Linked DNA regions of Homo sapiens: regions 2, 3, 4 and 5 are each linked to region 1. Evidence: promoter capture Hi-C in 16 types of primary human blood cells and fetal thymus (Javierre and others, 2016). All regions are on one chromosome and are shown on one strand. The core of a region is centred on a gene start or on the middle of the fragment in contact, and the rest is flanking DNA. Distances in the headings are between cores, read along the strand shown.

What was found. Contacts are between HindIII fragments. The CHiCAGO score rates a contact against its expected background, and 5 or more counts as called.
Region 2: a fragment that was not itself captured here is called in contact with the fragment with the promoter of PHKA2-AS1 in region 1 in 1 of 17 cell types (M2 macrophages); the score reaches 5.3 in M2 macrophages.
Region 3: a contact is called between a fragment that was not itself captured here and the fragment with the promoter of PHKA2-AS1 in region 1, in 4 of 17 cell types (M2 macrophages, monocytes, megakaryocytes and 1 more). The highest score is 7.8, in M2 macrophages.
Region 4: a fragment that was not itself captured here is called in contact with the fragment with the promoter of PHKA2-AS1 in region 1 in 1 of 17 cell types (M0 macrophages); the score reaches 5.1 in M0 macrophages.
Region 5: a fragment that was not itself captured here is called in contact with the fragment with the promoter of PHKA2-AS1 in region 1 in 1 of 17 cell types (total B cells); the score reaches 5.0 in total B cells.

What each region holds. Positions count from the first base shown.
Region 1 is chrX:18,888,118-18,892,262 of GRCh38, forward strand. PHKA2-AS1 (PHKA2 antisense RNA 1) reads left to right here and starts at 2,179. Exons shown (of 3, transcript NR_029379.1): 1 at 2,179-2,511. The HindIII fragment of the contact is 28,066 bases long and covers 1-4,145 here.
Region 2 is chrX:18,377,332-18,381,476 of GRCh38, forward strand. No RefSeq gene overlaps it. Among named protein-coding and RNA genes, the nearest start is that of SCML2, 25 kb to the left of the region's middle. The HindIII fragment of the contact is 6,947 bases long and covers 1-4,145 here.
Region 3 is chrX:18,420,525-18,424,669 of GRCh38, forward strand. No RefSeq gene overlaps it. Among named protein-coding and RNA genes, the nearest start is that of CDKL5, 3.0 kb to the right of the region's middle. The HindIII fragment of the contact is 1,145 bases long and covers 1,359-2,503 here.
Region 4 is chrX:19,334,660-19,338,804 of GRCh38, forward strand. No RefSeq gene overlaps it. Among named protein-coding and RNA genes, the nearest start is that of PDHA1, 7.2 kb to the right of the region's middle. The HindIII fragment of the contact is 404 bases long and covers 2,274-2,677 here.
Region 5 is chrX:18,479,365-18,483,509 of GRCh38, forward strand. All of the region lies in intron 1 of CDKL5 (cyclin dependent kinase like 5), which reads left to right. Among named protein-coding and RNA genes, the nearest start is that of CDKL5, 56 kb to the left of the region's middle. The HindIII fragment of the contact is 2,546 bases long and covers 543-3,088 here.

The DNA.
Region 1 (4,145 bases), core at 929-3,428:
AGAGTTAGAAGAAAAGATGTGACAATCATTTGAGTCTTGTCCCAGATGGGCTGTCACTCAAGGGCTATGAAAATCGAATGGGACTGGGCTGGTGGTCACAAAAACTGCAGGGCGCACTGGCAATTCTGCAGGGCTTTGCAGGATGGTGGAAGGTGGTCTGGTGGGCCATACTGGGCAGCAGTGGTGATCCAGCCCCTATGGCTCAGTAGCATTTCTACCCAAAGACAGAACATGTAATTAATTGTCCTACCTCCATCCCAGAGGTGGGTACCAGGATGGCTTCCATGCACCTGGGGTGAGGAGGGGTTGCCTGCACGCCCCTCTTCACTCCTGACACACAGCCTTCCTCAGGGGCAAATGTGCCTCTTGCGTCAGCTCTCCAGGGCAGACCCTGGCGAGGGCACAGGTCCTTCTTTTATGGGCAGAGGAAAGAAAAGCAAGCATTCCAGCTGGAGCGGACACTGAGTTTCAGATGTTTGGCATTTGAACCTCCTTCCTGTGTTCAGGGGATCCCCATGTTATGAAGTGGGGACCTCCACTTTGGAAGGCAGAATTCTCAAGATGCGGCTTTTTTCTTTTCTTTGAGACAGGGTCTTGTTCTGTCACCCAGGCTGGAGTGCAGTGGTGCAATCACGGTTCACTGCAGCCTTGACTTCCCAGGCTTAAGTGATCCTCCCACCTCAGCCTCTTGAGTAGCTGGGAAAACAGGTGTATACCACTGTGCCTTGCTGATTTTATTTTTTGTAGGGAGGGTTTCACATTGTTGCCTAGGCTGGTCTCTAGCTCCTGGGCTCGAGACCTCCTGCCTAGGCCTCCCAAAGCGCCAGGATTACAGGCACAAGCCACTACGCCTGGCTGGATGCTGTTTTTTCTAACCTCTCCCTCAGCCGAGGCAGTATGCTTGCCTGAGACCTTGAAGTGGCAGCTAGTGGCTGTTTAAAATCCCTTTTGGTGACAAGTAGAAGCCTCTACATTTAGTTTCCAAAAGAGCAGAGGCAGTGGTCCCAGTGACAGTGCCCAGCATTGGGGGTGTCTGTGGTGTAAGTCCTGGGGTATGAACCTGGGAGTACTGGAGAATGACATGGGATCTTGGTCCTGGCTAGGGAGCCGCTTAGCCTGGTGACCATGTGACCTATCCAATATTGTTTAATAAACTTCCCACTTAACCCAGCCACAGTTGGTTTCTGTTGTTTGCAAATGAACTTCGAGACAATGGCAGCTGGTGGCACAGAGATTAGAGCCAGTTACTGGGATTTCTCTTTGGCAAGTCCATCCTGGGTTTGCATCTGGGAAGATCTTTCACAAAAGGAGATGTGGAAGGCACAACCATCCCCTCGTGCCCAATTCAGATGCAGCTTACCCTTTGCAGAGCCTGGCACCTTGGCTATGCCAGCTGCAGGGGAAAGGGGTGGCGGCCACCTGCAAGGGTTGGGCCAATGCTGCACAGGATTCGGGCTCAAGACACCAACACCCTGCTAGGCCAGCGCAGGGAACACTCACCACGGGAGCCTAGGGGCTTCCTCAGGGGCCTTCAAGCACAAAAAGAGATACTTTTCACCCTCCCACCCCCCAACCAGGCTGTATGCCTGCCTGGCCCTCAGTGGGCATGGCAGAAATGCTAGGATTCGTGTTGGATTCATGCATTTTTCAGAATAGTTTAAGGACTGCACGAAGACAGAGGGACGAATCACATGACTTCAGAGTTCATTGGTTCCAACTATTCCAGCTCTCCTGAGAAGGCATGTTTTGCCAAAAGTGCACATATGTTCCTCTAAAGAAAACCATGGTAGTTTTTTGATGGAATTTTTTCCTCTCCCAGGCATCGTCAGACGTGCCCAGCACTCGACTGCAGAGCAGCCTCTCTCACAGTTTCCACTCTCATTTCTCAAAGAACTCTCTTGGTACCTCAAGGCCGTGGCTTTCCTAAGTGGCTTTTTGAGGGAGACAGCAGGGACTGGGCTTTAAGGGGGCCACAGCGCAGCTTTCTTTTCCCCTCACAGGCAGAGCTATCAGTAGCCACGTCGGGTAGAACAGAAGGCATTCTGGGAACGCGGTGCTCTCACATCCTGCAAAGTACAGGCCTGCAGAGCAGATGGCAGGGACTTCAAAAGCTAAGTCACCTTGAAAGATAATGGCACAAAGGGCGATTGGGGGTGGGGTGGGTGGGAGGCTTTTGTACCCTTTTGCAACAAGGAAGCAGAAAAGACAAAAGCTATTTGCCAGCCTGGTGCGGGAATCAACAGAATAGAGAGATGGTTCTGCTGCAATTTCCATCAAGGGTGGCCAAGCCTCCAGTCTTCTTGTCCAGAAGTAAGTGGCATCAACCAACTCTGCCAAACTGCATTTCCTGCCTCCTGATCTGGGGTCTTTTCCTTTTCTTTTTTCACACAGGGAGTATTTCCATCCTCTCTGTCCAGGCAGCTGAGCCTTGACAACCTCTCCTCCCCTTCACCATGCCCCGACTGATCTCCTAATGGAGCCCCACCCCTCGAGTCCCTGGGCCTGTGGAAGGTAGGGTCTCCCCCTCCTCCTCATCCTCCCCCACTCCACTCCAGGTGGGGTTGCAATAGGGCTTATCTGGTTTCCTCTAAGCATGAAGCCCTTGACCAGAGGAGGAGCGGGAGTTCACGTCACGCCCCCATGCTTAGTCCTGGCCTTTTGCATTTTTTGTGGATGGGTAAACTGAGGTACATAGTGGTCAACTCATGCCCAGGATCACAGAGGCACTGGCAGGGTGGCAGGAATGCTGAATTCACCTGATGAGAGCCAGGGACAGCAGCGGGTGGGGCGGTGGCTGCTTTTCAACTGAAGTTGTTAAAAGGAATGCTTATTCCTGGCCCCACCGGCTTGCCCTCCAAGGCAGAACGTGTTAATACCGAGCCCCAGCAAAGGTTCAAATTGACTTCTTGGCTCTGAGCAGGGAGGTAGAAGTTCCTGCCCCCGCCACCCCCGGCTCGAGGCTCCAGGGGCTGCCAGGCTCCTCTCGCCTGGCCTAGAAACAATCCCCTCCTGCCACCTCCACGCAGGTGCTGTCAGGACAGGCCCTCTGCCCTCAAACATCTGCTCCTCTCCTCGGGGAGGGGGGCCTCAGCTGCGCGCTGAAGGGGCCAGGCCTCAGAAGCCTGTTCTCCTTTGAAGCTGACAGCTTGATGCCTGTGGAAATGCGGTCCTATTTCAGGATTTCATTTTAAAGAGGTTTCAAAGGAGTGGCTGGAAGGCTTGGTGGAATCGCTTATTACGGCTCCTCTCCCGGCCCGCAGCTTGGTGGCTGAGCACGTCATCATCATTGGCAGGCAGGTGACTGTTCTAAATTAGCACCTGGCTCATTCTGGAGGGCTCTAACTCTTCCTGAGCTTTTTCCAAGAACAACTTTCATGACTTATACCTTCTTATACCTTTCCCACGTTATCTGTTTGAAATGATCCACGGGGCAGGTGAATTACGTGTCATCTCCAAGACTCTTGTTTCTGTCGGGCATGTCTTAAAGACACACACACATGCAAAGGCTATGAAAATGCGACCCCCCAGACCTGGGAAGCTGCAGCCCGTGGAGCCTCAGGGGCAAAGGGAGCAAACTGGCTTGTGAGGGAAGAGCTGCTCTGGTCAGCGGCTGTTGTGGGATGGGGAGGGAACAGGGTGACCCAAGGGGGCAGGGGCCTGGTGCCATGTCTGCTCATGTGCCGCCCTCCTTGTCTCTGGGATCTGCCCCCAAAATGCAAGAAACGCGTAAGCCCACTGTAGCAGATATGGAGAGACTCCGGGGGATTTTCCTTTACCTAACTACTCTGCACCTCTGCAAGGGAGAGCATTATGGTTTGGAAGAAATGGAAACGGCATGGAAGTCCCATGTGGGCAGAGCCTGCACACCAAACCCTTCTAGACTGCAAAGGGTTTGACTCAGCCCAAAGAGGACTCTGCCAGGAAGCTGTCAGGCACCTGAGGCCACCTGCCTCTCCTCCGCTTCAGGAATAACCATCAGTACTGCATCTTGGCTCTGAGGGGCACTGGGCATCACGATGCCCACTCGAAGCAGCTAGGGCACGTTGATCTCTGCATCTCCATACAGATGTCCGAGGAAATGATCCCATAGCCTCATCTCTGTTTCAGAGGCAGAGGCAGAGTCCACCATAATCTAGCCCATTGCT
Region 2 (4,145 bases), core at 558-3,057, 510 kb before region 1:
AAAGTATTTAGAGAGTTAAGCAGGCCAGAAGTGATGGCTCACACCTGTAATCCCAGCTCCTTGGGGGGCCAAGTCAGGAGGATTGCTTGAACTCAGGAGTTCGAGACCAGCCCGGGCAAAATAGTAAGCCCTCATCATGCAAAAAAATTTAAAAATTAGCTGGATGTGGTGGTGCATGTCTTCAGTCCCAGCTACTGGGGAGGCTGAGGCAGGAGGATCACTTGAGCCGGGAGTTCAAGGCTGCAGTGAGCTATGATCGGCCACTGCATTCCAGCCTGGGCAAGCCCCTGCCTTAAAAAAAAAAAAAAAAAAAATGTTGGGCAGGATGTGGTGGCTCACACCTGTAATCCCAGCACTTTGGGAGGTTGAGGCAGGAGGATCACTTGAGTCTAGGAGTTCGAGGCTGCAGTGAGCCATGATCAAACCACTGCACTCCAGCCTGGGCGACAGAGAGAGACTGTATCAAAACAAAAACAAAAGGAAAGAAAAGAATTTTGCAGCTTCTGCAGGAAGCCACCACCCATCACCACAGTGAGGAGGAAACTCACCGGATGCCTGCACAGGGAATGCCACGGGGCCAGTGCTACACTGCGCCCATCAAGTGAGTCCCAGCAGTGAGGAGAAACAAAGCAGCAAACAGGAAGCAGAAAAGTCCTTCAGTGCCCCCTATTGGCAGAGTATAACATGGAGCCGGCTGCCAAAACACAAAATGTAGGTTGCGCAGGTGCAGCTCCAGTATTACAAAGTAGGGAAAAGACTGACAATATCAGGTTCTGATAATGTGGAGCATAGGAACTGTCATATGCCTCGGGTGGGAGTGTAAATTAGTACAACTACTTTGGAAAACAATTTGGCATTATCTTTTTTAAACAACTTTTTAGGCCAGGTGCAGTGGCTCATGCCTGTAATCCCAGCACTTTGGGAGGCTGAGGCAGGCAAATCACCTGAGGTCAGGAGTTCGAGACCAGCCTGGCCAGCATATAGTGAAACCCCATCTCTGCTAAAAAATACAAAAATTAGCCGAGTGTGGTGGCACACACCTGTAGTCCCAGCTACTTGGGAAGCTGAGGCAGGAGAATTGCTTGAACCTGGGAGGCAGAGGTTGTAGTAAGCTGAGATTGCGCCACTGCATTCCAGCCTAAGTGACAGAGCAACACTCTGTCTCTAAAAAAAAAAAAAAAAAAATTTAAACAACTTTTTTGCCTGGAAGTCTCACACCCAAGTAACTGGATATGAGCTCAGTTTGGCATTATCTAATAAAGTTGAAGAGAGCATAGCCTGTGGGCAGTTCTACCCTATGTCTATGCCCCAGAGAAACATGTGTATGCACATTGTACATCAAGGTAAGTGTTTAAGAATCTTTCCAGGTGCAGTGGCTCATGCCTGTAATCCCAGCACTTTGGGAGGCCAAGGTGGGTGGATCGCTTGAGTCCAGGAGTTCGAGACCAGCCTGGGCAACATAGGGAGACTCTGTCTCTATTTTAAAAATACAAAAAATTAACTGGGTGTGGTGTCACATACCTGTAGTCCGAGCTACTCAGGAGGCTGAGGGAGGATCACCTGAGCCCAGGAGGTTGAGGCCACAATGAGCTGTGATAGCACAACTGCACTCCCACCTAGGCAACAGAACGAGACCCTGTCTCTAAAAAACAAAAAAAACTTCATAACGGCATAATTTATAATAACCCCAAATGGAAAACCCGAAGTCCATCTATAGTAAAACGCAAATTAAATTGTGGCATACTCGTTCAATAGAATGAATACTCTATAGAATGAAAATACACAACTATACATTGAGACATGGATGATACCTCAAAATCATAATGTTCAGCAAAAGGAGAGAGAGAGAGAACGAATCCAAAGGGTAAGACTCCATCCCATCCATACAATACTCAAATCCAGGATGCACACCTCAGTGTAAAACAAAAACAAACACATGTGAAAAACAAGAACTGGATTTATTATGAGTTAGGAGTTACCTCTGGGGAGGAGGTTAAGAGTCATGATCCAGGAGGTTACTTACATGTGGGGGAGTTCTGTAATATTCTGTTTTGTTGACATAGGTGACTTACATTAGATTGTTTCTTCCTTTAAAATAAAAAGTACATATGTTTAGTATGCATTTTTGTACATAGGTTATGTTTTGTAAGTTTTTGTGTGGTTTTTTTGTTTTGTTTTTTTTGAGACAGAATCTCACTCTACTGCCCAGGCTAGAGTGCAATGGCGAGATCTCAGCTCACCGCAACCTCTGCCTCTCGGGTTCAAGCAATTCTCCTGCCTCGGCCTCCCAAGTAGCTGGGATTACAGGTGGCTGCCACCACGCCAGGCTAATTTTTGTATTTTTAGTAGAGATGGGGTTTCACCATGTTAGCCAGGCTGGTCTCAAACTCCTGACCTCAGGTGATCCACCTGCCTCAGCCTCACGAAGTGCTGGGATTATAGATGTGAGATTACAGGGGTGAATCATATATCAATTTTTTAAATAAAATTTCAAAAGGAATGAATAGTATGAAAACAAATCATGTTAACTGAGTTTTAGGTAAAGATGACTACTTGTCAGAACCTAGGGGGCCGGGCATGGTGGCTCCATCTGTAATCCCAGCACTTTGGGAGGTGAAGGTGGGTGGATCACCTGAGGTCAAGGAGTTCAAGACCAGTCTGGCCAACATGGGGAAACCCTGTCTCTACTAAAAATACAAAAATTAGCTGAGCGTGGTGGTGCGTGCCTGTAATCCCAGCTACTCGGGAGGCTGAGACACAAGAATTGCTTGAACGTGGGAGGTGGAGGTTGCAGTGAGCCAAGATCACACCACTGCACTCCATCCTGGGCGACAGAGTGAGACTCTGTCTCAAAAAAAAAAAAAAAAAAGAGTAGACTATATTTGTGTGAGTCAATTTCTGAGCTCTCTATTCCATTCCATTGATCTATTTGTCTATTCTTATGCGAATACCACACTGTCTTGATTACTGTAGCTTTTTAGTAGATCTTGAAGTCAGGTAGTGTCAGTCCTCTAACACTGATCTTCAGTATTGTGGTGGCTATTCTGGGTCTTTTGCCCCTCCGTATAAACTTTAGAAGCAATTTGCTGATATCCACACAATAACTGACTGGGAATTTGATTAGGATTGTGTTGAATCTATAGATCAAATTGGGGAGAACTGACATCTTGATAATATTGAGTTTTCCTGTCCATGCACATGGTATATCTCTTCATTTATTGAGTTATTATTTGATTTCTTTCATCAGTTTTATACTTTTCCTCATATAGATGTCATACATATTTGGTTAGATTTATACCTAAGTATTTCCTTTTTGGGGGGTGCTAATGTAAATATTATTTGGGGGTTTTCTTTGCGGCAGGGTTTCACTCTGTTGCCCAGGCTGGAGTGAACTGGTATGATCGATGGCTCACGGCAGCCTTAACCTCCTGGGCTTAAGCAGTCCTCCCACCTCAGCCTCATGAGTAGCTGGGACCACAGGCATGCACCACCATGCCCAGCTACTTTTTAAAAAATTTTTTATAGAGACAAAAAGTTTTGTGTCTGTTGTAAGGTAATTTTGATGTTCTTTTGTTAGGCATATACACATTAAGATTGTTATACCCTCTTATAGTTTTGACTCCTTTTTCATTATGTAATGCTCCTCTTTATTCCTGATAACTTTCCTTGCTCTAAAGTCTGCTCTGCCTGAAATTAATACAGCTACTCCTGCTTTCTTTTGATGAGTGTTAGCATTGGATAGTTTTCTCTATCCCTTAACTTTCAATCTATATATGTCTTTATATTTAAAGTACATTTCTCGTAGACAACATATAGTTGGCCTTTGTTTTATCATCCATTTGACAATTTCTGTCTTTTGTTTGATGTGTTTAGATCATTTATATTCAAGGTTTTTTTTTTTTTTTTTTTTTTTTTGAGACAGGGTCTTGCTCTGTCACCCAGGCTGGAGTGCAGTGGCACAATCACAGCTCACTGCAGCCTCAACCTCCCGGGCTCAAGCAATCCACTCTCCTCAGCCTCCCAAGTAGCTGGGACTACAGGAGCACACCAACACACCCAACTAATTTTTTTTATTTTTTGTAGAGACAGGGTTTCGCCATGTTGCCCAGGCTGGTCTTGAATTCCTGAGCTCAAGTGATCTGCCT
Region 3 (4,145 bases), core at 681-3,180, 470 kb before region 1:
CAGGTGATGATGGTGGGAAGTGGGGAAAGGGATTTAAATCAAACACAAGATTAGAGTTTTAAACGGTTGATTTTTAATAGCAGAAAACACCTAAATGTCAAAAAAAAGTATCCAAGATATGAAGGGACATGAAAGGTAAATTTACCATAAAAACATGTTTCAAAGTAGTGATTGGAGAAAAATAAACCACTTCATTTATACCCCATGGAATTGAGCCTGCTCAGTAACAGCTAATCTTTATAAAGTCCTTACTATGGGTCAGATACTCTTCTAAGTATTTCACAAATAGTCACTCACCTAAACCTATGAAGTAAGCACTATTATCATCTTCATCATCTCCAATTTTTTTTGAGACGGAGTCTCACTCTTTTGCCCAGGCTGGAGTGCAGTGGTGCAATCTCAGGCTCACTGCAATCTCTGTCTCCCGGGTTCAAGCAATTCTCCTGCCTCAGCCTCCCAAGTAGTTGGGATTACAGACACTCACCACCACGCCCAGCTAATTTTTGTATTTTTAGTAGAGACGGGGTTTCCCTGTGTTGGCCAGGCTGGTCTCGAACTCCACACCTCAAGTGATCCACCCACCTTGGCCTCTCAAAGTGCTGGGATTACAGGCATGAGTCACCGCGCCCGGCTTCATCTCCATTTTTACAGAGGAGGAAACTGAGGCATAGAGAAGTTGAGCAATTTGCCCAAGGACATAACTAGAGCTAGCATTTGAGCCCAGGCCATCTGACGCCCGAGTCTTAAAAGATATGATTGCAATGTAAGGTTTGCTCAAGGTACAGAAGAATATTGGTTAAAGTGTTAAGGCTGACATTTCTGTTCTTTCCCCACTGTTCCTGGTTAAACTCAGTGCCTGGAGGACAAAGATAGAGGCTTTGTTTCAAATGAGGAATTGGATTCAAATTTCCAAAATGAAAATTTTCCAAATGATATAAACTTTAAATGAAAACATGTAAGATCTGACGGTTTGATTTAAGCTCTGAGCAGGGCCGAGGAATAACTAATGCTCACCTCTTCCTGCAAACACTATAAATTTATGCACTGAGCCAGGCACCGCGGCTCATGCCTGTAATCCCAGCACTTTGGGAGGCTGAGGCAGGCGGGTCACTTGAGGTCAAAACCAGCCTGGCCAACATGGTGAAACCCCATCTCTACTAAAAATACAGAAATTAGCAGAGTGTGGTGGCGTGCGCCTGTAGTCCCAGCTACTAGGGAGGCTGAGGCAAAAGAATCACTTGAACCCAGAAGGCAGAGGTTGTAGTAAGCTGAGATCATGCCACTGCACTCCAGCCTGGGTGACCGAGCAAGACCCTGTCTCAAAAAAAAAAAAAAATTATGTGTTGATTGGATTCTTAAGCTTTTCTACCAGATCCTGATTGCATTATGAGGTCTAGGCCCAGATGGATACTTCATAAATGTTTTTTTGACAATGAATAGAATGCTTGTTTAGTCTTCTAGACTTGTCCCACATATATCAAGGATAAAAATGTCTTACTTTTTTTTTGTTTTGAGATGGAGTTTCGTTCTTGTTGCCCAGGCTGGAGTGCAATGGCGCAATCTCGGCTCACTGCAACCTCCGCCTCCCGGGTTCAAGCGATTCTCCTGTCTCAGCCTCCCGAGTAGCTGGGATTACAGGCACATGCCACCATGCCCGGCTAATTTTTGTATTTTTAGTAGAGACGGGGTTTCATCATATTGGTCAGGCTGGTCTCAAACTCCTGATGTCAGATGATCCGCCTGCCTTGGCCTCCCAAAATGCTGGGATTACAGGCGTGAGCCACCGTGCTCAGCCAAAAATGTCTTACATCTTGATTACCACTTGTTTATTGATTATTGAGACCCGTAATGAGTAGCACTCATAGGTTCTGACATCTGTAGTGGGATGCGTCTCTGGCATCTAATAGAAAGTCTGACTCAAACTGTCTGAAATGCAAGGAAAGGGCAGAGTTTGTTTAATGAAACAACTCAGTGACGTCATCAAGAACCCAGTTAAAAATTTTTTTTTCTATTTTTTGATTCTGCCTTATTTAGTGTGTAGGCTTTGACCTAGGGCTGGTTTTCCTCTTAGTCACGAAATGACTGTCAGTGGCAACAAGCGTACTTGCTTCCTTGTTCATCCAGCAGGGTAGACAGGGAAAACCTCTTTCAAACCATCAAATGTTAAATTCTTTCCTTCAGTGTAATTAGGCCACACATTGATTGACTGAGACTCTGGGTAGTGTGGAGCGGGTGGATGCCTGAACAGAGTTGGGGTTCTATTAGAAGGGCAAAAAAGCAAATCGATGCTGGGGAGGTTCTCAAGCTGTTTCTTCATCTGGAAAATGGTGAGAATTTCGCAGAGAATTGAGAGGATTAGAGATAATGTGTCAGATTTAGCAAATAAAAATCGAAGATGCTCAGTTAAAATTGAATTTGAGATAAACAGCAAATAATATTTTAGTCTAAGTATGCTCACCTCTTTCTACAAACACTACAAATTTATACATTAATTTGGTTCTTAAGCTTTTCTCCCAGATCCTGATTGCATTACAAGGTCTAGACCTAGAAGGGCATTTCGTAATTTTTTTGGCAATGGTTAGAACCTTATTTAGTTTTCTAGCCTTGTTCCACATGTATCCAGGATAAAAATACACATTTATACTAAAAATTATTCGTTGTTTATCTGAAATTCAAATTTAACGGGGCATCTTGTATTTTATCTGGCAACCCTAAATCTATGTGAAGTTCTTGGCACAGAGCAGGTATCCATTCACTGGCTAGTATTAGTGTTCTTTCTACATAAGTGCTCAGTTAAATGGCAGCATGGTACTTTTTTTTTTGGAGACAGAGTCTTACTCTAGCCCAGGCTGGAGTGCAGTGGTACCATCTCGGTTCACTGCAACCTTGACCTCCTGGGTTCAAGCAATTCTCCTGCCTCAGCCTCCTGAGTAGGTGGGATTACAGGTGCACGCCACCACTCCCGGCTAATTTTTTTCTATTTTTAGTAGAGATGGGGTTTCACCATGTTGGCCAGGCTGGTCTCGAACTTCTGACCTCAGGTGATCCACCTGCCTTGGCCTCCCAAAGTGCTGGGATTACAGGCGTGAGCCACTGCTCCCGGCGCATGGTACTTTTTAAACTTTTACTAACTTTCTAGAAAGGTTAGTTTTTGACCAAAAGACGAATTAACTAAACTGCAAGTGACTGCAAGAAATCCTTTACCACTACTTAAAACCAGATCAAAGCAAATGTCCCTAAGCAGAAGGTCATATTTGTGTATATGGGATGGCACATTATAAGGCATCTAATATTACTACTTAATACTAAATTGGACCTATATTAACAGATGTTCAGTTATTGTTTTTTCTCCATCTTCTCAATCTATACGGATAATTAATTTGTTACTTCCGGTTCACCAGGTCTAAATAAAATTTTAAAAAATTATTCATTTGAGTCAAAGGTAATGCTGCTGAAATTCCTAGTACAAAGGCTCTGATATACAGGGATGAAAATGGAGTGATTGCCCCAGGAGTTCTGGATCCACGTGGGTGAAGCTAGAGGTCACAGCACTGTTACTTTGCATCTGGAGGAGGCAGGAGACTCTGCGAAGCCCTCTGTTGTTGCCTCTGACTCCATTTTCCCTCTTTGCTAATTCATTGCTCCTACCTGTAAAATTTTCTAATATGCTTCCACTTTCATTTCCTCATCAAATATTCACCGTTATGAAAAAGAAAATCCTATTGGCTTGGTATCAAGTGGCCAAACTGAGCATGCTGCTACATATTGTTACCAGATTCACTACAGGAATAGATTAAGTGGATTTTATCCCAAATATCTATTTCCTATTACAGTACTGCATCTTTCTAATTTGGTGGCAGCTATGACCTCATACACTGCCTATTTTCCGTGCTTTTCCTAACCAGAAGAGACCCTATTTTTCTCCTTTGCTTGTTAAAGCGAAAATAATTATGCAGCTTTCCATAGATTTGTCCCCAATGTCTTTTTAAAAAAATTTTTTTTCTTTATTTTCTAAAAGTAGCATTGGAAATGTTATCTCCTTCAATTTCATCACCTCTTCATCCTCCTTGGAAACCCGATCCATGGTGGGTATTAAGATCTTTACATTTGTACTGGTTGGGCGATGACTTCATTGCTTTCAAGCC
Region 4 (4,145 bases), core at 1,226-3,725, 450 kb after region 1:
GGAGTGCAGTGGCGTGATCTCAGCTGACTGCAATCTCCAACTCCCTGGTTCAAGCGATTCTCCTGCCTCAGCCTCCCGAGTAGCTGGGATTACAGGCACGCGCCACCATGCCCAGCCAATTTTTGTATTTTTAGTAGAGATGGGGTTTCACCATGTTGGCCAGGCTGGTCTCAGAAGCCTGACCTCGTGATCCGCCCACCTTGGCTTCCCAAAGTGCTGGGATTACAGGCGTGAGCCACCGCGCCGGGACATATTTTGTACTTTTGTAATAGAGATGGGGTTTCGCCATGTTGGCCAGACTGGTCTCCAACTGCTGGCCTCAAGTGATCCGCCTACCTTGGCCCCCGCAAAGTGCTGCGATTACAAACGTGAGCCACCGCACCCGGTGAGATTTTTTTCTTTTTTCTGTTTGAAATAGTCTGGCTCTGTTGTCCGGGCTGGGGTGTAGCGGTGTTTTTCTTATTAATGAGATTGGAGTGCCACCTAGTAACATTTTCTTGTAATTGCACACAGATATGTTTTTCTTATTACTCTGATTACATCGCCCCCTGATGGAATTTGCCTGCAATTGCTTATGAGGGTCTTCCCTATTACTCAGGTTAGAGTGCCACCAGGTAGAATTGTCGCGTAATTGCAGGACAAATATGTTTTTCCCACTATAGTGGTCCCTGCCAACCCTTATCTTCAGGGGATATGTTCCAAGTCCCCCAGTGAATGCCTGAAACTTTTGAATAGTACTAAGCTCTCTGTATACTGGCTTTTTCCATCTAATCACCAAGATGGCTAAGTGACGAATGAGGGGTAGCATATTCAGTGTGGATACCGTGGACAAAGTACTGATTCACAGCCTAGGCGGGACAGAGCAGGACGGTGCGAGGTTTCATCACATTACTCAGAACAGTATGTAATTTTAAACATGAATTGTTTATTTCTAGAATTTTCTGTTTAATATTTTTGGCAGAGGTTGACCGTGGATAACGGAAACTGCAGAAAGCAAAACCGTGGATAAAGGGGACGGCTGTACGCAGGTTAGTGAGTCACCTGGTGGAATTTTTCTGAAACTGCAGAACAGATCTGTTTGTTATTTCTCATGTTGGAATGCCACCTGGCGGAATTGTCCTTTGTTAAAAAGTACATCTATGGTCCTCAAACTTGGCATCCAAAATACCTGGAGAGCTTGTTATTTTATTTTATTTCTGAGACAGGGTCTTGCTCTAGCACCCAGGCTGGAGGGCAGTGGTGTGATCACAGTTCACTGCAGTCTTAACCTCCCAGTCTCAAGCGATTCTCCTGCCTCAGCCTCCCAAGTAGGTGGGACCACAGGTGCACCACCACGCCCAACTAATTTTTGTATTTTTAGTAGCAGTGGGGTTTCACCATGTTGGCCAGGCTGGTCTCAAATGCCTGACCTCAAGCAGTCCTCCCACCTCAGCCGCCCAAAATGCTGGGATTACAGGCGTGAGCCAACGTGTCCAGCCCGGAGAACTTTTTAAATCAAAGATTGCAGGTTTCCACTCCCAGAGTTTCTTATTCAGGAGGTTTGGGATGGGGTCTGGGAACGTGCATTTCTAACAGATTTCCCAGTTTGTGTTGATGCTGCTTGTCTGAGGTGCACTTTGAGAATTACTAAGTCCTCAACTCCTTAAATTTTAGTTGCCCACATAAGTGGGTTCTTTCCTATATGATTTTCGCAATTCTTTCATCTTTGAAGAACTGTAGAGATTTGAAATCTTGGCTTTCTGGAGCCTTTCCAAAGAACTCAGGATACCTTTTTTTTTTTTGAGTTGGGGTCTCACTATGTTGCCCAGGCTGGTCTCAAACTCTGTGCTCAAGTGATCCTCCCGACTCCTGAGTAGCTGGGACCACAGGCATGTGCCACTGTGTGCAGCTCGGGATATCTTTTGATTAAATCTACCAGTTGCTTTTGAAAACAGTTTTTACAACCTGATCTAAGTCACTTTACAATGTAGGGTTTTGTCTGGTTTTTATAGCCCTGCATCCTAGAATAGGCACTCTTGAAATATCTGTTGGACGAGTGAATGAATGTGGCCCTTTGACACCATGTCAGTTGGATAAATAGGGTTGTGTCCCACAATTAAAGCAGATGAAGCTCTTTGTCTCCTTCCTTCTCTATAACCTATTATGCTACAAAAAAAGAAGTCATAGACAGAATTCTATCCAGATCATTTATTTATGCAGGCACAAAATGTGCCATACATCCTGTTCCCTTAAGCTTGGCAAGGGCCTGTTCTCTCCTTCTGGGAACCGTGACAAGCTTCTTCATGAAGTGTTGATCCCAGGCAGACCCAAACAGGTGGCTTGTCAGACGGTTAGACTCTATTCACACGAGGGCTGGCGGCCCTGAGAGTCTTTTGAGCCAACTGCATATATATATATTTTTTTGAGACGAAGTCTCACTCTGTCACCCAGGCTGGAGTGCAGTGGCGTGATCTCAGCTCACTGCAACCTCTGCCTCCTGGGTTCAAGTGTACCCTCCCTGGCTCAGTGTAACCCGCACGGACCTAGGGGGACTGAACAAAGGGGACTGAACGTGGGAATAAAAGACAAGAGACAAAATAATACATTTGGAAGAAGGGGTCAGTGGCACCTCAGCTTCCCAAAGTGCTGGGATTACAGGCGTGAGCCACTGCTCCAAGCCAGAAGATAGAAATTTCTAAGCTTTGCTTTACCAGTGAGGACCCAGGTCACCAAGAAGTGAAAAGATTTGCATATTTACTTATAGTCACAAGATTCTAGTATAGTGCTCATTAAGGATGGGGCTCTGTCTTAAGTGCCTGACAAATATTAATCCATATAAGCTTTATGACAGCCAGCCCTATGAGATGAATGTTGTCATTATGCTCCATTTAAAGACGAGGAAACCGAAGCACAGAGAGTTTAGGCAAATTGCCCGAGGTCACACAGCTGGTAAGTCGTTGAGCCAGGATTTGAGACCAGGCAGACTGGTGCCAGAGTCCAGATGCTAGGCCGCCTCTCCGTAGGACAGTTCTTAGGTTTCCAAAGGCTGCTTCCGTTTGGGGATCAGCCACAGAAAATGATTGATAGTAACTTCAGGCCAGACTCATCAGTGTGTGCCTAAAATCTTCCCTATTAAAATATGTATTTTTCCACATATCTCCATTGGATAATAGAAAGACATGATGGGCCGAGTGCAGTGGATCATGCCTTTGATTTCAGCACTTTGTGAGGTTGAGGTGGGAGGATCGCTTGAGCCCAGGAGTTCGAGACTTGCCTGGGCAACATAGCGAGACCCTGTCTCTATTTTAAAAATCATATAGAAAGATATGCTCATACTCACTGTGGTTCACCTATCTTAGATTCAGGAACCCCGTGCTCTCCTGAACACACTATGGCACCTCCTTCCATTAATTTCCTTTAGGATCCTGTCATGAGAGGGCACAGCTCATCTTCCATATTTACAAAATGCAAAGCTGACATGAACATCCTTCTCTGGCTTCCCATTATTCTTAGGAAAAGTGTCTAAATCTTTAATGAGGTCTAACAGGACCAGGACAATCTATTGCCAACCTCGTGCTCAGCGCTCAGACCACAGCTAGAAGGTCTCCTCCTCAGTGCTGAGGTCTGAATGTGCCCCCTAAAATTCATCTACTGAAACTTAACCTCCAATGTGAGGGTATCAGGAAGCGGGGCCTTTGGGAGGTGATTAGATGATGAGGATGGAGCTCTGCCCCACTCCCCCAGGCCCCTTTGAATGGAATTAGCACCCTGATGGAAGAGGTTGAAGGGAACACCCCAGGCAATTTTTTGCCCTTCCACTCTTCTGCCATGTGAGGACTCAGCCAGAAGGCCCTCACCAGACACTGAATGCCCTGACCGTGGACTTCCCAACAGCCAGAACCATAATAAATCAATGTCTGGGTTTGTTTGTTTGGTTGGTTTTTATTGTTGTTGTTGTTTGTTGTTTTTTTTTTTTGAGACAGGGTCTTGCTTTGCCACACAGGCTGGAGTGCAGTGACACAATCGTGGCTCACTGCAGCTTCGACCTCCCGGGTTCAAGCCATCCTCCCATCTCAGCCTCCCAAGTAGCTGGGACTACAGGCACCTGCCACTATGCCCAGATAATTTTTGTCTTTTTTGTAGAGATGGGGTTTCACCACGTTTGC
Region 5 (4,145 bases), core at 566-3,065, 410 kb before region 1:
GCTGGAGTGCAGTGGCACGATCTCCGCTCACTGCAAGCTCCGCCTCCCAAGTTCACGCCATTCTCCTGCGTCAGCCTCCCTAGTAGTTGGGACTACAGGCACCCGCCACCATGCCTGGCTAATTTTTTGTATTTTTAGTAGAGACGGGGTTTCACTGTGTTAGCCAGGATGGTCTCGATCTCTTGACCTTGTGTTCCGCCCACCTCGGCCTCCCAAAGTGCTGGGATTACAGACGTGAGCCACCACGCCCGGCCAGCCACTATTTCTTAAGTATTTTTTTCTGTTCTTTCTTCTCCTCTGGTATTCCCATTACATGTATGTTGTTGTGTATTAGTCCAGGCTCTCCAGAGAAACAACCAAAAGGGGATGATGAGATAGATAGATATGTTTAGTGGTATCCCATTTTTCTCTGAGGTTCTGTTCATTTTTCATTTTTTTCTGTGTTCTTCAGATTGCATAATCTCTATCAATCAGTCTTCAAGTTCACTGATTCTTCTGCCAGCTGAAATCTATTCATCTCCTCTAGTGAGTTTTTAAAAATAAGCTTCATAATTTAGAATAGGTTTTGGTTTACAGAAACATTGCAAAGATAGTGGAGAGTTTCCATGTACCCCACATGTAGTTTTCCCTATTATTAACATCTTATATTGGTATGATACATTCATTCTAATTAATAAACCATATTGTTAGTGATTATTGATTACTGATATTCAAAGTTCATACTTTATTCAAATTTCCTGTTTTAATCTAATGTCTTTTTTTTTCTGCTCTAGGATCTCATGTAGGATATCACATTACATTTAGTTGTCATATCTTCTTAGACTCCTCTTGGCTGTTACAGATTCTCAGACTTTCTGTGTTTTTGATGAACAGTTTTGAGTAATACTGCTTAGGTGTTTTGTGGAGTATCCCTCAGTTGGGATTTGTCTGATGTTTTCCTTGTGATTAGACTGGTGTTGCAGGTTTTTGGGAGGAAGACCACGTAAGTAAAGTGTCATTTTCATCACATCGTATCAAAGGGACATACTATCAACATGCTTATCACTATTGATGTTAATTAACCTTGATCACCTGGCTGAGGCGGTGTTTGTCAGGTTTCTGCATTGTAAAACTACTCTTTTTCTCCCTTTCCATAATGTCCTCTTTGGAAGAAAGTTACTATGTGCAGCCCACATTTAAGGACTATGGAGTTATGTTCCACCTTATTGAAGATGGGGTATTTACATAAATTATTTAGAATTCTTCTGCACAGGGGATTTGTCAACTCTGACTCTCTCATTTACTTATTTAAAAAATCATTATGGACTCATGGATTTCTTTTTAATACTTTGGTTAATAATCCAAATGTAGTACTACTTTATTTTGTTGCTAAAATTGTCCCTGCTTTGGCTACTGGGGGCCCCTTCAGTTAACTAGTGTGATTTGACATAGCACACTTCTTCTTCCTTCTTCCTTTCTTCTTTCTTCTTCTTCCTCTTCCTCTTCTTTCTTCCTTTTTTTTTTTTTTTTTGGAGAGGAAGTCTCGTTCTATCCCCTAGGCTGGAGTGCGGTGGCGTGATCTCCGCTCACTGCAACCTCCACCTCCTGGGTTCAAGCGATTCTCCTGTCTCAGCCTCTTGAGTAGCTTGGATTACAGGTGTGTGCCACCACGCCTGGCTAAATTTTTGTATTTTTAATAGAGATGGGGTTTCACCATGTTGGCCAGGCTGGTCTCCAACTCCTGACCTCAGATGATCCACCCGCCTCGGCCTCCCAAAGTGTTGGGATGACAGGCGTGAGCCACTGCGCCTGGCCTTCTTTTTTCTTTCTCTCTTTCTCCTCCTCCTCCTCCTTCTCTCTCTCTCTTTTTTTTTAAACCTACTTCTTTATTTTCTGGCACTAGAATATGCTCCAGGCTCATCTTGTACATTTTTATGCCCCAGTCCTAGTTTCAGCCATTTCACCAAAGAGTCCTGGTTTCTTTCTTTCTTTCTTTCTTTCTTTCTTTCTTTCTTTCTTTCTTTCTTTTGAGGCAGGGCGTCACTCTCACCCAGGCTGGAGTGCAGTTGCATGATCGCGGCTCACCACAGCCTTGACCTCCTAGGCTCAGGTGATCCTCCCACCTCAGCCTCCAGAGTAACTGGGGCTACAGGTGCGGGCCACCACACCTGGCTAATTTTTGTATTTTTTTTTTTTTTTTGTAGAGAAGGGGTTTTACCATGTTGCCCAGGCTGGTCTCGAACTCTTGGGCTCAAGTGATCTGCCCGGCCTGTCTCCCAAAGTGCTAGGATTACAGACATGAGCCACTGTGCCCGACTCCTGGTTTATTTTTATCACAGAATGGTATTAGAAAGCAGGATCTAGGTGCTAGGTGGGTGCTAATGAATCTTTCATTTTGGTTATTTACTTTCCTATTCCAGAATTTCCATTTGGTTCCATTTTCAGTATTCTCAGCCTTCCTTGCCTGGGGTAGAGGTGCTGCCCTATAAATGAGGCTAGGTGGAGGTAGCTCTGCTTGACCGGAATAGTTCCTGCAACATGAAACAGAGGCTGCGAGGGGTGGCAGGGGATGTGAAATTCTGGTAACCTACTGCTCCTGGGGAGAAACTTTCGTCTTGGCTACACTCACTGGGCATAGAGCTGGGGGTGAGGGAGAGGGAATGGGCATGTAAGGAAGTGAGTCCTGGTTCAAATTTTTCCAACTTGGTCTTTTTACCAAGATTCAGTAGATTTTCTTGACTAAATATTGCTGCGTTTGCCCCATGTCCTTAGGGCAATTTCTGCAGACTGTAAATAGTTTCTTCTCTTTCCTTCTTTTTTTGTATCCTTTGTACCAGTTAAGGTTGTTTTGCTGAGGAGAGGGTCCAGGGTCCACATGGACCACCTCACACTGCCATTCTGGAAGTGCTTTTCTTTGGTTTAATTTTGTTGGAATAAAGTATTACTTATGGAAACAGCATTAGGTAAATATATTTCACGTATTCTAAATAGTAATCTTCATTGCCCCATCTTGTTTTCTATATCCTTTGATACTAATTTATAACAACAGTTCTTTAGAATTTAGACACTAACTCACCTCTTCTCTTTGTATTTTATCTTTTGAGAATGAAGCTTCATTTTATTTTTCATAGCCCTGGCAGACTACTTCCATTTATAGTCCTGTAACCATCCCTTTTGTGTGTGTATTGTTTCTGTGATGTCTTTCATGAAACTTCTTAGGGCTAAAGGTAATTGAAGCACATTTGCTTTTCCTCCCACTCAAATGTTTTTATTTCCTTCAAACAAATACCTTAGCAATTCTGCATCTAGATGTTCTTCAATTTGTCAGTTCTTGTTTTTTTTTTTTTTTCTTGGCACAACAGAAGATGTTCTATTTCATACAGTTAATGAAAGGTATCTTTACTTACGTAACTATAAATGATCAATAATGATGATAGTGCAATGCAATTTCAGAAGTTGTTCTAGATTTAGCATAGTTCTAAATTGTTGAGGCCGAGTAGAAAAATTTTCAGTGATATTGTTCAACTTGATAAAGTAACATTACTTTGCAGATAATATAATTGTCATCAGAACTGGCAAGACTAAAATTGTTTGCTTTAAAATATTTTATTTTCCTTAATAAAAATATTGCTTTAAAAATGTTAATGACATTTCATGAATCTATTCTTTTGGGCATTGACATAAATTACTGGTCTCATTTGGGGAATCCATTTAAATGTAGGCTCTTTGAGATGATATAATAAATCCCTCTTTCTAAAGTTATTGGCCTTCTTATTACATCATCTATTGTGTTTCATTAGTGTTATCTTTTAATTAGTAATAATCTCTATTATGTGGCTTCTATGCATCAGAGGCTTTATATAATCTTGAATCCTCTTCATTAGCCTATAAGTAGGTGGTATCAGTTCTTCTTAATGAATGAGAAAATAGGCTTGAAGGGACTACATAACTTGCTCATGGTCACATAATTAGTGAGGGATGACACCCAGATGTGTCAGTATTCTCAAAAGACTAGAAAGAAGGGTCCAGGTAGAGGAAGGGTTTGTGGCAAAAGCAGTGCATGGACTGCTTGTTCATCATCTTTTTTTTTTTGAGATGGAGTCTCGCTCTGTTGCCCAGGCTGGAGTGCAGTGGCACAATTTTGGCTCACTGCAACCTCTGCCTCC